Regions from separate parts of the Homo sapiens genome. Here all the other regions are linked to region 3. The links are contacts of gene promoters, found by promoter capture Hi-C in blood cells and fetal thymus (Javierre and others, 2016). All regions are on one chromosome and are shown on one strand. The core of a region is centred on a gene start or on the middle of the fragment in contact, and the rest is flanking DNA. Distances in the headings are between cores, read along the strand shown. Region 1 overlaps MED12 (mediator complex subunit 12). Region 2 overlaps ZMYM3 (zinc finger MYM-type containing 3). Region 3 holds the start of OGT (O-linked N-acetylglucosamine (GlcNAc) transferase). Region 4 holds the start of FOXO4 (forkhead box O4).

Region 1 (3,376 bases), core at 203-2,702, 390 kb after region 3:
GTGCCACTGAACTCTAGCCTGGGCGACAAGAGCAAAACTCCATCTCAAAAATAAATAAAAAGAGACTAAGGGCCTATACCTTAATGTGTTGCCATGTTGAAGAAGAGGAAGAGAGGGTAGCAATCCAATTAGAATTAAGAAATTTAGGCCGGGCGCGGTGGCTCACGCTTGTAGTCCCAGCACTTTGGGAGGCTGAGGCAGGTAGATCATGAGGTCAGGAGTTCGAGACAAGCCTGGCCAACATGGTGGAACCCTGTCTCTACCAAAAAAAACACAAAAATTAGCCGGGCGTGATGGCACATAACTGTAATCCCAGCTGCTCGGGAGGCTGAGGGAGGAGAATCGCTGGAACCCGGGAGGCAGAGGTTGCAGTGAGCCGAGATCGCGCCACTGCACTCCAGCCTGGGCGACAGAGCAAGACTCCGTCTCAAAAAAAAAGAAAAAAAGAAATTTTAGAGTGTAAGGTAAACAGGGGAGATGATCAGAATAGAATGAAGACTCTGACTTGTTGGTCCAACCCCCTGCATTCTCCCAAGAGACCACCCTTCCCAGACATGCAGAACTCGCACACTCCCTTTGCAAAGAAGCTCTGTGTATTGGGTGCAACAGCTCTGGGGTCTCTATATAAATAATATACAAAACCCAACAGCTCAATGCCTCACATTAACAAAAATACTAAAAACTTATTAAAAATGGAGCCTGAGGGGAGGGCCCCAACCACTACTGGTGCTAGCCCAGGAATGGGATTGGGAATTAAGAGGAAAGGGTGGGGCCACATCCAGTGCACAAGCAGTTCCTCCAGGTGGCTCAGTAGCGTCCAAATATGTTGGTACTGGGCTGTGGCTGGGTATCTGTGAAAAACCAGAGATTATCAGGGATGGAAGACCAGGCAGGGGTGTGGGTATGCACGAGGAAAGCTGTTCAGGTATCGAGGGAAGGGGATGGAATGGAATGCCTCCTCTCATAACCTGGGCCTGAAGCTATCGTTTCAGCTACTTTGGCCCACCCCGCCCCCTAAATTTATTCCATGGGGTTCTCCTTGGGAAGGCAGGCAGGCTTACTAGAGAGCTGTTGTTGAAGTTGCCGGACCAAAGCTGCTGTCTGTTGCTGCTGCTGGGTCTGCTGAAGCCCCTGGCGCTGGAACTGGGTGGAAATAGGAAGTGGAAGACTGAAGTCGAACTTTTCTCCTTCTTCAACCTCCTTTCCCAATCCGTTTTTTTTTTTGAGATGGAGTCTCGCTCTGTCCCCCAGGCTGGAGTGCAGTGGCATGATCTTGGCTCACTGCAACCTCTGCCTCCCAAGTTCAAGCAATTCTCTGCCTCAGCCTCTTGAGTAGCTGAGATAACAGGCACCTGCCACCATGCCCGGCTTATTTATTATTATTATTTTTTGTATTTTTAGTAGAGACGGGGTTTCACCATCTTGGCCAGGCTGGTCTTGAACTCCTGACCTCAAGTGATCCACCTGCCTTGGCCTCCCAAAGTGCTGGGATTACAGGCGTGAGCCACTGCGCCTGGCCTCCCAATCCATTTTTAGGGTGCCATGCCCTGCCTCCCACCTCTACCCTATTCCATACTGTCCCCAACCCAGTTCACTGGCTGCGTGCCCAACCTGGGCAGCTGTCCCTGAGCCTGGGGCTGTAGTCCAGCAGCTACCTGGGGCTGGGACTGGGGCTGGGGTTGGGGAGGAGCCGCCTGTTGCTGCTGTTGCTGCTGGTGTTGCTGTTGTTGCTGTTGCTGCTGCTGCTGTTGCTGTTGCTGCTGCTGCTGCTGCTGCTGTTGCTGTTGCTGCTGCTGCTATAAGAACACAAAAGATACTTCAGAAGGAGCAGAGGGAGGAAGCTAAGCCTCAGAACTAAAGGGCTGAGGGCAGGGGATGAGGAAGCAGGGTGGGAGCTCGGGGTCTACTGCCTTCCCTTTTTAGACAGCTGCACAGAAAGAAACCAAATCTAGGGTACCCAGCAGACAATGTCCAACTCTCTCCCACTATGATCCCCAGAAAACAAAAAGGGGGAGGGTAGAAAACTTCTCCAGCACCACTAGAGGCCAGCCGCTCTGCTAGGTGTTTTGGTACACTGCCTTGTTTAGTCTCGGTAACTGTGTGGGAAGAACTTGTGCCTCTCTTCCTCCCTGGGCTCCCAGGTCCCAGATGAAATCCCAGTGCCTTACCCGCAGGATCTGCTGCTGCTGCTGCTGCCGGATGTGGTACTGCTGCTGCTGCTGCTGCTGTTGCTGTTGCTGCTGCTGCTGCTGTTGCTGTTGCTGCTGTTGCTGCTGCTGCTGCTGCTCAGGTAGGATGGCTGTTGAACGGACGCCTGCCTGGACGCCCTGGGCACTCATTGGAGTCATGGTACTTATCATGGGTGTCTGCTGCAGTGTCTGGTGTGAAAACCTCCAAAGATAAGAGGGTCAGAGGTCAAGGCATGAGGGAGGTGAGGAGAGGGGGTCAGTATAAACCTTGGGTCCCTGACCTGAAAGAAACGTTAGCAGGTTATTTCATTCATTCCTCGTGTCACTAACCAGACTTCCAGTCTGGGGAATAAGTTGCATAAGATGATACTCTATTTTAGTGTCTCATAACCTTAATGGTTAGGAATTTTTCAATTCTGCATTAGCTATTTTTCTGTTACAAAAATGAAAAATAGGGCTGGGTGCGGTGGCTCACACCTGTAATCCCAGCACTTTGGGAGGCTAAGGTGGGTGGATCACTTGAGGTCAGGAGTTCTAGACCAGCCTGGCAACATGGTGAAACCCCATCTCTAGCAAAAATACAAAAAAAAATAGCTGAGCGTGGTAGTGGATGCCTGTAATCCCAGCTACTCAGGAGGCTGAGGCAGGAGAATTGCTTGAACCTGGGAGGTGGAAGTTGCAGTGAGCCAAGATTGCACCACTGCACTCCAGCCTGGATGACAGAGCGAGACTCCATCTCAAAAAAAAAAAAAAAAAGAAAGAAAAGAAAAGAAAAAAATAGTCTTAGCACAAGATAGGCATTCTATAAACACTCATTGAGGTTTTTTGCTGTTGCTGTTGTTGTTCCCAAATAACATTTCAAGTTGTTCTACCACATGTGTATATCACTTCAAGAGTCTACTGGCCAGGCTCCCCGTCTCAAGTCTTCTTTTTTTTTTGAGACAGAGTCTCACTCTGTTGCCCAGGCTGGAGTGCAATGATGCGATCTCGGCTCACTGCAACCTCCACCTCTCAGGTTCAAGTGATTCTCTTGCCTCAGCCCCCCAAGTAGCTGGGATTACAGGCACATGCCACCACACCCAGATAATTTTTGTATTTTTAGTAGAGACGGGATTTCACCATGTTGACCAGGCTGGTCTCGAACTCCTGATCTTAGGTGATCTGCCTGCCTGGGCCTCCCAAAGTAC
Region 2 (3,326 bases), core at 531-3,030, 280 kb after region 3:
CCCTCTTCTACTCCTAATCTGCAGTACATATCCAGCCATACTCATGGACCCCAGTGATTTCCCCAGTCCATTTGACCCATTGACCCTGCCAGAGAAGCCCCTGGCTGGAGACCTACCAGTAGACATGGAATTTGGAGAGGATCTACTGGAATCCCAGACTGCCCCAACTCGAGGATGGGCCCCCCCTGGCCCTTCTCCATCCTCGGGAGCCCTGGACCTGCTTGATACCCCTGCTGGCCTGGAAAAAGACCCTGGAGTCCTGGATGGAGCCACTGAGTTGCTGGGGCTGGGGGGGCTGCTCTATAAAGCCCCCTCTCCCCCGGAGGTGGACCACGGTCCTGAGGGAACCCTGGCATGGGATGCAGGAGATCAGACCCTAGAGCCTGGACCAGGGGGCCAGACCCCTGAGGTGGTACCACCTGATCCAGGGGCTGGGGCAAATTCCTGTTCACCTGAGGGGCTACTAGAGCCTTTGGCTCCAGATTCTCCAATAACACTGCAGTCCCCACATATTGAAGAGGAGGAGACCACCTCCATAGCTACTGCAAGAAGGGGCTCCCCTGGGCAGGAGGAGGAGCTTCCCCAAGGGCAGCCACAGAGCCCAAATGCCCCGCCTAGCCCTTCAGTGGGAGAGACTCTGGGGGATGGAATCAACAGTTCTCAGACCAAACCTGGGGGCTCTAGCCCCCCTGCACATCCTTCCTTGCCAGGTAGGTTGCCTAATTATCTGGAGAATCAGGGCTGGGAGAGGGTGGTGGTAAGGAGGGGTGGCTATGTGCTTTGGGAAGTAGTGGGGAGGAGGAGGGTGGAGAGATAAGTGTAGGGATGTGTGTGGGGAAGGACTTGGGGTTTACGAGGGAGGAGTGGGGTGGTGTGTAGAGGAAGATTAAGGAAAGTAGGGGTGGGCACAGGCTGTGGGGGAGGAATGGGGTAAGGTTTCAGGGAGCGTAGGTTGGGAGGAGTGAATTTGGTGGGAAGGGTTCCCTTTTTCCTACCCCAGTGGGCTTTTGGTGCCAGAGTCCTTCCTTCAGGATTTGGGGGAGTACACCAGGCTTCTTGGTTCTAAGACCTTTACAGCTTTTTGGTTCTAGATGGGAGTGGGATTTCTGGGTTTGATGAATGGTAACTAGGTTCTGGAGCCCCTAACAGCATAAGGATTTCAGCAGAGCGATAGAAATGCAGGGTCTAGGATTGCGTCTCTGATAGGGGAGGGACAACCTTGACTTGAGAGGCTCTAGTGTCTCCCCTCTTCTGCCTAGTGGTGTGCCTCTATCAGGCTGTGACGAGGGTCTTAGGGCTTATATAACCACCTGAATCCAGGGGAAGCTACCCATACACTGATGCTTCCTTTTCCTTTTGCTACCTTTGGGTGGTTGTGTGTGTTTTTCATTGGTAAAATATAAATTCTTAATGAAAGGTATATTACCTGTGTTTCCTTAACCCCCAAGGATTGGGACAGAAAGCTGGTGGGAAGGATAGATTTTTTTTTTTTCATGGAATAGCTGCACGTGCACCCCCCCACCCTTAGTACAGAGCCTGAGGTAACCCTGAGAGGGGCCCCAAGAAGCCACAGGCACTCGAGTTTTCCCTTTCAGTTTTGAGTAAGTTCTTCCCCAGGAATGGAGGCGGGGGTTGGGCCGGGGAGAGGGTGGTGAGGGCAGGCTCAACATTTAGGCTGCCTTCTGCTTCCTTTGCAGGAGATGGCCTGACTGCGAAGGCGAGTGAGAAGCCGCCTGAACGGGTGAGGGGGAGGGGATTGGAAGGAGTCTGGTTCCCCCTTAGCTCTGGGAAGGACAGACCCTTCATTTTCCCTCCCAGATGTTGTTCTGTAGAGAGTGTGTGTAAGGAGAGTTAGGAGGAGGGAGGGAGCACTAGTGTCTACTGCTTGTTGGGGAGAAAGTCCAACCTCCTTTTCTTCCCTCCTCCTAAGGGCTGGGCCAAGGGTCCCCACTCTCCCTTCCCCCTCCCATCTTCTATCCCCCCCCAAACCCTGTACTAGTGTTAGCCTGGCCAGGGTGTCAGTTTTCCTCCCCTCCCATCTTTCCGAGGTACAGAAGAGAAGCGAGCGCGTTAGGAGAGCAGAACCTCCAAAACCTGAGGTTGTAGATTCCACTGAGAGCAGTAAGTAGGATTTGAGGAAGTGTGACCTGGGAGTTCTGGGTGTGGAAAAGGTCCGAAAGTGGCATGCGGCAGGGCATGGATCTTCTAGCTCCTGCCGTCCTGCTCCATGAAGCGCATGAAGTGCCTGTCTCTGCTATGGGTTGGCATGGGAACCAGGGGCAGTGGGGGAAATTGAAAACAAGAGCAGTGAGAATGGCGAGTTTCCTGTTTCAGCTATGCCATCTCTGTCTCCGAATCTTCTCATTTAGAGCCTCTCCCTTTCCCTCCCTGGGAGGTTACAGAGTAACCAAGGGAGAGAGACACCAAGGTCTTAAGATACTGATGTAACAAGGGCCAGGGTGTAAAGGCCGGAACAACAGGGATCCCAGGAGAGGGACTGAACTGTTGGTCAGGGGATGGTTGGAGACCTGGTTTGGTGGCCTTTCTCATGTCCATCCCCCCACTTTCTCAGTTCCAGTGTCAGATGAGGATTCTGATGCCATGGTAGATGACCCCAATGATGAGGACTTTGTGCCATTCCGGCCCCGGCGCTCTCCTCGCATGTCCCTACGCTCAAGTGTGTCACAAAGGGCCGGGCGCTCTGCAGTGGGCACCAAGATGACTTGTGCACATTGCCGGACACCACTGCAGAAGGGGCAGACTGCCTATCAGCGCAAGGGGCTGCCTCAGCTCTTCTGCTCGTCATCCTGCCTCACCACTTTCTCCAAGAAGCCCTCGGGCAAAAAGACCTGTACCTTCTGCAAGAAGTGCGTGAGGGTCTTGGGGGCTATGCAGAGGGCAGGGATCTGGGCAGGAGTATGAGTAAGACAGAGACTGTTGGTAAGAACCTAGCAGGATGGAGCTGGGCGAGAGAGTGATGTAGGGAGAGAGTCAGAGTATTTGGCTCTGTGGTCATTGATCCTGGAGGAGGGGCGGAAGCTGAGGAAATGAGAGGGTGGTCTTGAGTGAATATTCAAACCTGTTCCCACCTCTAGGGAGATCTGGAACACCAAGGACTCGGTTGTGGCGCAGACTGGTTCTGGAGGCTCCTTCCATGAGTTCTGCACATCCGTCTGTCTCTCCCTGTATGAGGCCCAGCAGCAGCGCCCGATCCCCCAGTCTGGGGATCCCGCCGACGCTACTCGCTGCAGCATATGCCAGAAGACTGGAGAGGTGAGGACACTCAGTGGGGGCTGATTTACAGAGCCTGGCCAGCCCTGACCTGC
Region 3 (3,054 bases), core at 201-2,700:
TCCAGGAACAGTAGCTAAAACCCTCCACACATCTCAACTGAGAAACAACCAAAAAATAACCTCGCGGGAAACCTCAGAAGCGCAGCCCAATTCCCCACCCCCTTCCGCCCAAATCGCCTCAATATGGAAAGGCAGCTGAAGGACACTCCTACAATTTGGTTGTTTTCGTATTTTCAGTACCAAATGCTCGCGACTGAAGTGTCTAAAAGGGCAACCGCCTTGTACTTGTGCAGCTACACTCCAGTTGCTTTACAAACTCTTCAAGCAGGGATGGAAACTTAAAAGAATATTACACCCTGTGAATAAAGAGATACTGGGCTGAAGAATGGGGATGGCAGACCCAGAGGCGGCGGCGGAGGAATACATCGAGAAAGTAACACAAAGCGAGAATTGGGCGGGCAGGGTGGTCAACGCCAAAGCAGCAGCATCGGGGTGGTTTCTCCCCCAAGGATAGGAAGTGAACAGGGCTGGCAACCTCGCGAAGGGAAGGGTGTGGTTCCCCGCGGACAGGGTGGGAAATCCAGGCTGAGGGCAGCGGTGGAATTGGGCGATGGCAAAGGAAACCCCTGGAAATTTCCAATCTAAACCGGGACCGCTCAACCGAAAGAACACCAGAAAGGCACTGCCTAGCAGGGTGCTGCTCAATGTCCCCTCTTCTCGAGGTGACTTGTGGCACCATCGACGAGCTTTTGATCGTCCTCGGGTGATGCAAAGTGAGGATATGATTACATCGGAACGGCACCCCCGCCCTAGATTGGCAGAGAAGGACCAAATCTGGCTAAGGGGAAAAGACTGGGGGGGGAGATGAAGGAGGAGATGGAGGGGAAAAAGGAGAGGCGATGAGCTGGAATTAGGGGAGAAAACCGCTGCAAAGGAGTGAAAGGGCAGGGATTCCAATGCAGTCCATTCCACGACATTCTAAGCGCGCACGTGTGATAAAAGCGCCTGGAGAGAGTGGAATGCTAGAACATTTACGAAATAAAAACAAAGCAAGAAAGGCAGCAAAAAGCAAGCAAGGGAGGAGGAGGAAATGTTCGGGAAGCGGACAACAGCGGAAAACCCGATGTGATCAGATGCCAGTAGACCACGAAAAGCTTAGCAATGTCACTGATGTAATGGGGATGGTTCGAGGGAAGGGAGGGAAGGAGTGATACAAGGTAGAGGACGGCGCGAGACCCCAAGGGGGCATCTGCCAAGGTAGAACGGGACACCGGTACCTGTGCTGTCGGCCACGTTGCCCACGGAAGACGCCATCTGGAGCTTCTCGAGGGAGAGCAAAAAAGAGGTAATTGGTCCTGCTGCCGCCACTACCAGCAAGAACGTATTTGGAGGTAGTAGTACAAGGGCAGCAGCCGTAGCAATGCTCTGGAGGGCTTGAGCGGCGGCAGCAGTTACAGGCTTCAAACCCTGGGAACTCTAATTGACCATCTACCTAGTACGGTCTTGAAATGGCGGCGACGGCTCCTCGGCCGAAACAACATGGGCCGGAACTACTTTCTGTTACAATCAAGTGCCCGCGCGGAGGTAGCCGGTAACCAGCGCCGCCAACAAAATGACTTCAAGCTGCAAAGTCGAGATTCCATGTAGTCCTCCGCGCAGCGCCCATTGCGACAAACACCACGGTGGAGACCGCGCATGCGAGCAGCCCTGTCAACCCGACTCGTGGTTAGGGCACTCTCTGGGGCGGAAGCGGCCAAGTTTCTTAAGAGTGTAGCGGAAGGGTAAAAACAAACACACACGGGACGGATACGTTTTTGCCACCGCGATTAAGAAGAGTGTTTGTTACTTAGCAGGTGGTGTCGTTTTAAACATAAATGCCAAAGGCGTCTAAAAAAGTTTATCAACTGTATTCGTACAAAAACGGATGGTTACGACTCTCACGGATCAATTCTGAGCCAGTCAATTCAGAAGATTGCCTCTCAAAGACAGCTGCTCAAAACGAGGAGCGAGAGGGTTCCGATTTGAGCCCGTCTTCATTGTGACTCGGCCATCGATTTCAGCACTTCGATGAAAAAGACTGAAGCTTTCACAGGGCCAGTTGAATGCAGACACCTTCAATGTTGGCCGTATAGCCTGAAATTTCAAAATCGTTTTGGTATTCAGAATACTCCTGCCCACGGTGATAGGGCAAATGTTTAATAACTCAGGGACATGCTGGGCGTTTGCACTCCGAAGGCAGCCATAAAAATGTTAAAGGTGATTCACGTTCGTCAAAATCCATGACTCTCCTCGAGTTGTGACTTCATTTCCACCAGCTAGCTCTGCACATTGTCACAGTCGGCGATTCCACTGAGCTCAAAGCAGATCAACAATGATAAATGAATTCACTTGCCATCTGCCTAAACCACACGTCTAGATTGAGTCATGAATTGCCTCTACTTCCTTGAACAAATCGGTTCTTACGATCTTCCTGCAGTTTCAAGTCTACTGTTCAGACATTTTGTCACATTGGTATTTATACTTCACCTCTTGTTCTAGAAACGACTTAAGGTAGCTTGCCACATCAGCAAGAAAGTATTACAAGCCACTGGAGGCTACAAGTTGGATCTCTGAGAGCCTTTTTATTTCAAAAAGTCCTTGATCTAAGAAAGCAGGTCAATGAATTTCTTCAAAAAGTTTTTGCTACCTAGCCCCTTCACTACATTTTTTAAAACTAAGTCCTCAAATTCTGCTTAAATTTCTTCAAAACAGTCAACAAACAATTAATTATGGAAATGGCACAGAGAAAATTCATAATGCTAATTTCTTCCATCCCATAATCAAGAGTCACATCATGCAGTGAAAAAGACAAAAATCACTACACAAACTCTCCTGAAAATTGAGCACCAACCTCTTGTAATTTGATTTAACTGGTAAAACCTCCCCCCCGCACACACACACCTACTACAAGTTCCCTATCTGTAATGAGTAAACTCAGCTTTTCAACTTTTAGAAGAGACTTCTCAGATTCCACTGGCAGATGTTTAGGCCTTGCTGATGAGCGGGTGCTAGCTAATTAACAAAAACTCTTTTTGTTGTTAAATGCAGGTCATGTTCCTAATTCTTCAGCCAATA
Region 4 (3,211 bases), core at 101-2,600, 440 kb after region 3:
CTTATTCATCTGTGATCCTTCAGCATCAAGCACCGAGTGTGGCATATACTATGTACTAAGTAAATGTTTGTCTAACTGGAGATTGAAGGTGGATCTCTGGGCTTCCCAAAGGGGGTGGGGGTGGGAGGTAGTAAAAGGGGCCCCAGAGTAGAAGTAAGGGAGGCTAGGGGGTCCAGGGGGTAGATGGTGTTGGGAAGAAGGTAAGAGGGTCATAATTACCTTCCATCCTGCTGAGCTGTTGCTGTCACCCTTGTCCTTGAAGTAGGGTACAGTACGGACCATCCACTCGTAGATCTGGGCAAGTGTCAGTCGCTTCTCCGGGGCGCTTTCAATGGCCTGGCTGATGAGTTCTGCATATGACTGATTTCCCCAGGCATTCCGGCGGGAGCCTCCCTTCCGAGGACCTGTTACAGCCCCCAGGATTCCGGGCTGGGGGCCCCCGGCCGGCTCTGGGAGCCGAGAGGGCAACAGGATCGGCTCTGAGCGCCCCTCCGTGTGTACCTTTTCCCCCAGATCTGGCTCCACCTCGGGCGGCTCGGACGGCTGGTTAGCGATCTCTGGTCGGGGAAGGGGCCAGGTGCAGGAGCGGGGACGGCTCTGGGGTTCGAAGTCGGGATCTAGGTCTATGATCGCGGCAGCCTCTGTGGCTGAATTCTCATTCCCCGGATCCATACGTGGAGTTGGACCTCCCCGGCTCAGCGTTCAGTGAAGCCTGCCACAGTCCCTCACGATGCCTCCCCTCAGGGGGGAAGCATCGAGGGCCAGGAGGCACATTCCTGCCAGTCTTCAGAAAGTCGCGAACTTCCCCCTAGTCCCAGGACGCTAGTCCCTAAGCTGTCCCTTCACACAGTTCTCCGATCCCCTTCCCGACTACAGCCTGTAGCCTCAAAGCTCTTTCTGAGATGCCACCTGTAACCTCTGCCGAGCGAAGACACTTTTTCTGCAACCTCTCACTCAGCTTCCTGCTCTTTTAAACCTGAGGCACTGTATCCCCTCATATATTGCGCTCCCATCACCGAACGTCTCCTTAGCCGCAGTTCCCTCCCCCTTTTAAGTTGCTGCCCCCCGGACACTCCTCCCAAATTTCCTCCACCCGGATTGCTGCCCTCCCCCACGCCCCGCTCCCCCGCGTCACTTGCCCCTCCCCTGACTCCCCCTTCCCCCGCCTCTTCCCTTCTCGCCACTCTTACTAGGGTCCGGGTCCCCGCGGCTGCGGCCTCCCTTATTCCCGCACCGATTCCCCTATCAACCCCCCCCACCCCCCGCCCCCCGGGTTTCCCTTTTGTTTTGCTCCAAGCAGCAGCCCCCTCCTGACGTCTCTGTTTACCACTCGCCGGGGCAGCCATCTGCGCACGCGCCTCGAAAGCCAGTCGGGAAACCGAGTTCTGCAGTCGTGCCACCCTGGTCACTCTTGAGGACTACATCTCCCGTCCTGCTTCGCGGCCAGGAGCCCGATACGGCGGCAGGAGAGCGGCGTGGCAGGATATAACGAGGTGGAACTTTAATTATTAGAAGTCGTCGCGGACTCTTTCTTTTCTTAAGAATCGTTTTTCGCCCTTTCCCCCTTTCCATTGTCTCCCTTGTGATTCAGAGTCGTGTAGGTGACCAGATTGAGAGGTGCTAGCCCTTTCCCTCCTTCATTTAGGAGACGGCAAAAGGGAAAAAATTATTCTCTTAAAGATGCAGGAGACCAAGAAGCAAGAAGCAAGGAACTGACTAGAAAATAGGATGTATGCACGTTGGAGAGTTGGGTGGGGGGCTTGTGTAACATAAACAAATGGTTAGCCCACGGTGGTGTTCCTCCTCACCCCCTTCCTCCTCCCTCCACCCGCCTTCATCCCCCCATATGCAGTTCCCACTGACAGTGAGGTCTCACTTACCAATCAGTTTCCTCCACTGGCTCTTCTGGCTTTCCCTTCAACACCGATATTCTCCAGGTTCACATCTCCAACGGCTTCACTTCTCATTCAACAGGTCCAAACTCATTATCTGTTCCTGCACCCGCACCCCTATCCTCTGGCTACCCTTATCTCTGAATTTGACTTATGGTAGTCCTGATCTACCCAGTCTCCCAAGCTCCAAGCAGCAGCTTAGAGGTAATTACCCATTACTTCTTCATCTCCGTAACTTTCTACATCCAAATCCCAGTTCAAGACCTATTTATAACTGCATTTAAATTGTAGGATCAGCCGGGTGCAGTGGCTGACGCCTGTAATATCAGCACTTTGGGAGGTCGAGGCAGGCGGATCACTTGAGGTCAGGAGTTTGAGACCAGCCTGGCCAACATGGTGAAACCCATCTCTGCTAAAAATAGAAAAATTAGCCTGGTGTGGGGCACGCACCTGTAGTCCCAGCTACTTGGGAGGCTGAGGTGGGAGAGTCGCTTGAACCCAAGAGGTGGAGGTTGCAGTGAGCCAAGATCATGCCACTGTGCTCCAGCCTGGGTGACAGAATAACACCCTGTCAAAAAAAAAAAAAGGTGCAGTATCATCTTAATTGGATCTCCTTCCATCAGTCTTTACCTCACTACAGTTTATATTCAGAGCTGCCAGCAAGGTTACCGTTCTAAGAAACATGTCTGGTAATTATGGCTAAAATTTATGGAGCCCTTATTATGTGCCAGTCTCTGTGCAAATTGCTTTACGAACATTAGTTCATTTACTCCTCAATCATTTACTCCTCAATTCAACCCCATGAGGTAGGTACCACTATTATCCGCATTTTATAGATGAAGACACTAACAATGCTCAGAGATTGACTTGCCCAACGAGGCAGAACTGGGATTATATAACTTACATGCGATCGTATAATTTCTTTCTTTCTTTCCTTCCTTCTTTCTTTCTTTCCTTCCTTCCTTCCTTCTTTCTTTCTCCTTCCTTCTTTCTTTCTTTCTTTCTTTCTTTCTTTCTTTCTTTCTTTTTCTTTCTTTCTTTCTTTCTTTCTTTCTCCTTCCTTCCTTCCTTCCTTCCTTCCTTCCTTCCTTCCTTCCTTCCTTCCTTCTTTCCTTCTTTTTTGAGACAGGGTCTTGCTCTGTCACTCAGACTGGAATGCAGTGGTGTGATCTTGGCTCACTGCAGCCTTGACCTGCTGCACTCAAGCAATCCTCCCATCTCAGCCTCGGGAGTAGCTGGGACTACAGGCATGTGCCACCACGCCCAGCTAATTTTTGTATTTTCTGTAGAGACGGGGTTTCACCGTGTTGCTCAGGCTG

The links. The method cuts DNA at HindIII sites, captures the fragments that hold promoters and counts their contacts. A CHiCAGO score of 5 or more calls a contact.
Region 1: a fragment that was not itself captured here is called in contact with the fragment with the promoter of OGT in region 3 in 2 of 17 cell types (non-activated CD4 T cells and total B cells); the score reaches 7.2 in non-activated CD4 T cells.
Region 2: a contact is called between a fragment that was not itself captured here and the fragment with the promoter of OGT in region 3, in 3 of 17 cell types (fetal thymus, naive CD8 T cells and naive CD4 T cells). The highest score is 8.7, in fetal thymus.
Region 4: the fragment with the promoter of FOXO4 here is called in contact with the fragment with the promoter of OGT in region 3 in 4 of 17 cell types (fetal thymus, non-activated CD4 T cells, activated CD4 T cells and 1 more); the score reaches 6.0 in fetal thymus.

Annotation. Positions count from the first base shown.
Region 1 is chrX:71,139,650-71,143,025 of GRCh38, reverse strand. MED12 (mediator complex subunit 12) reads right to left here. Exons shown (of 45, transcript NM_005120.3): 42 at 2,169-2,391; 43 at 1,656-1,796; 44 at 1,062-1,143; 45 at 576-851. The coding sequence ends at 808. It overlaps LOC124905197 (a long non-coding RNA gene), which reads left to right. Exons shown (of 4, transcript XR_007068262.1): 4 at 1-480. Among named protein-coding and RNA genes, the nearest start is that of NLGN3, 3.5 kb to the left of the region's middle. The HindIII fragment of the contact is 5,236 bases long and covers 1-3,376 here.
Region 2 is chrX:71,249,973-71,253,298 of GRCh38, reverse strand. It overlaps ZMYM3 (zinc finger MYM-type containing 3), which reads left to right. Exons shown (of 25, transcript NM_201599.3): 2 at 25-710; 3 at 1,698-1,741; 4 at 2,055-2,121; 5 at 2,573-2,867; 6 at 3,096-3,273. The coding sequence starts at 44. Among named protein-coding and RNA genes, the nearest start is that of ZMYM3, 2.5 kb to the left of the region's middle. The HindIII fragment of the contact is 6,691 bases long and covers 1-3,326 here.
Region 3 is chrX:71,531,500-71,534,553 of GRCh38, reverse strand. OGT (O-linked N-acetylglucosamine (GlcNAc) transferase) reads right to left here and starts at 1,450. Exons shown (of 22, transcript NM_181672.3): 1 at 1,218-1,450. The coding sequence starts at 1,254. RefSeq lists enhancers at 876-1,534, 1,360-1,699, 1,200-2,399. The HindIII fragment of the contact is 929 bases long and covers 1,097-2,025 here.
Region 4 is chrX:71,093,990-71,097,200 of GRCh38, reverse strand. It overlaps FOXO4 (forkhead box O4), which reads right to left and starts at 1,350. Exons shown (of 3, transcript NM_005938.4): 1 at 220-1,350. The coding sequence starts at 672. The HindIII fragment of the contact is 17,633 bases long and covers 1-3,211 here.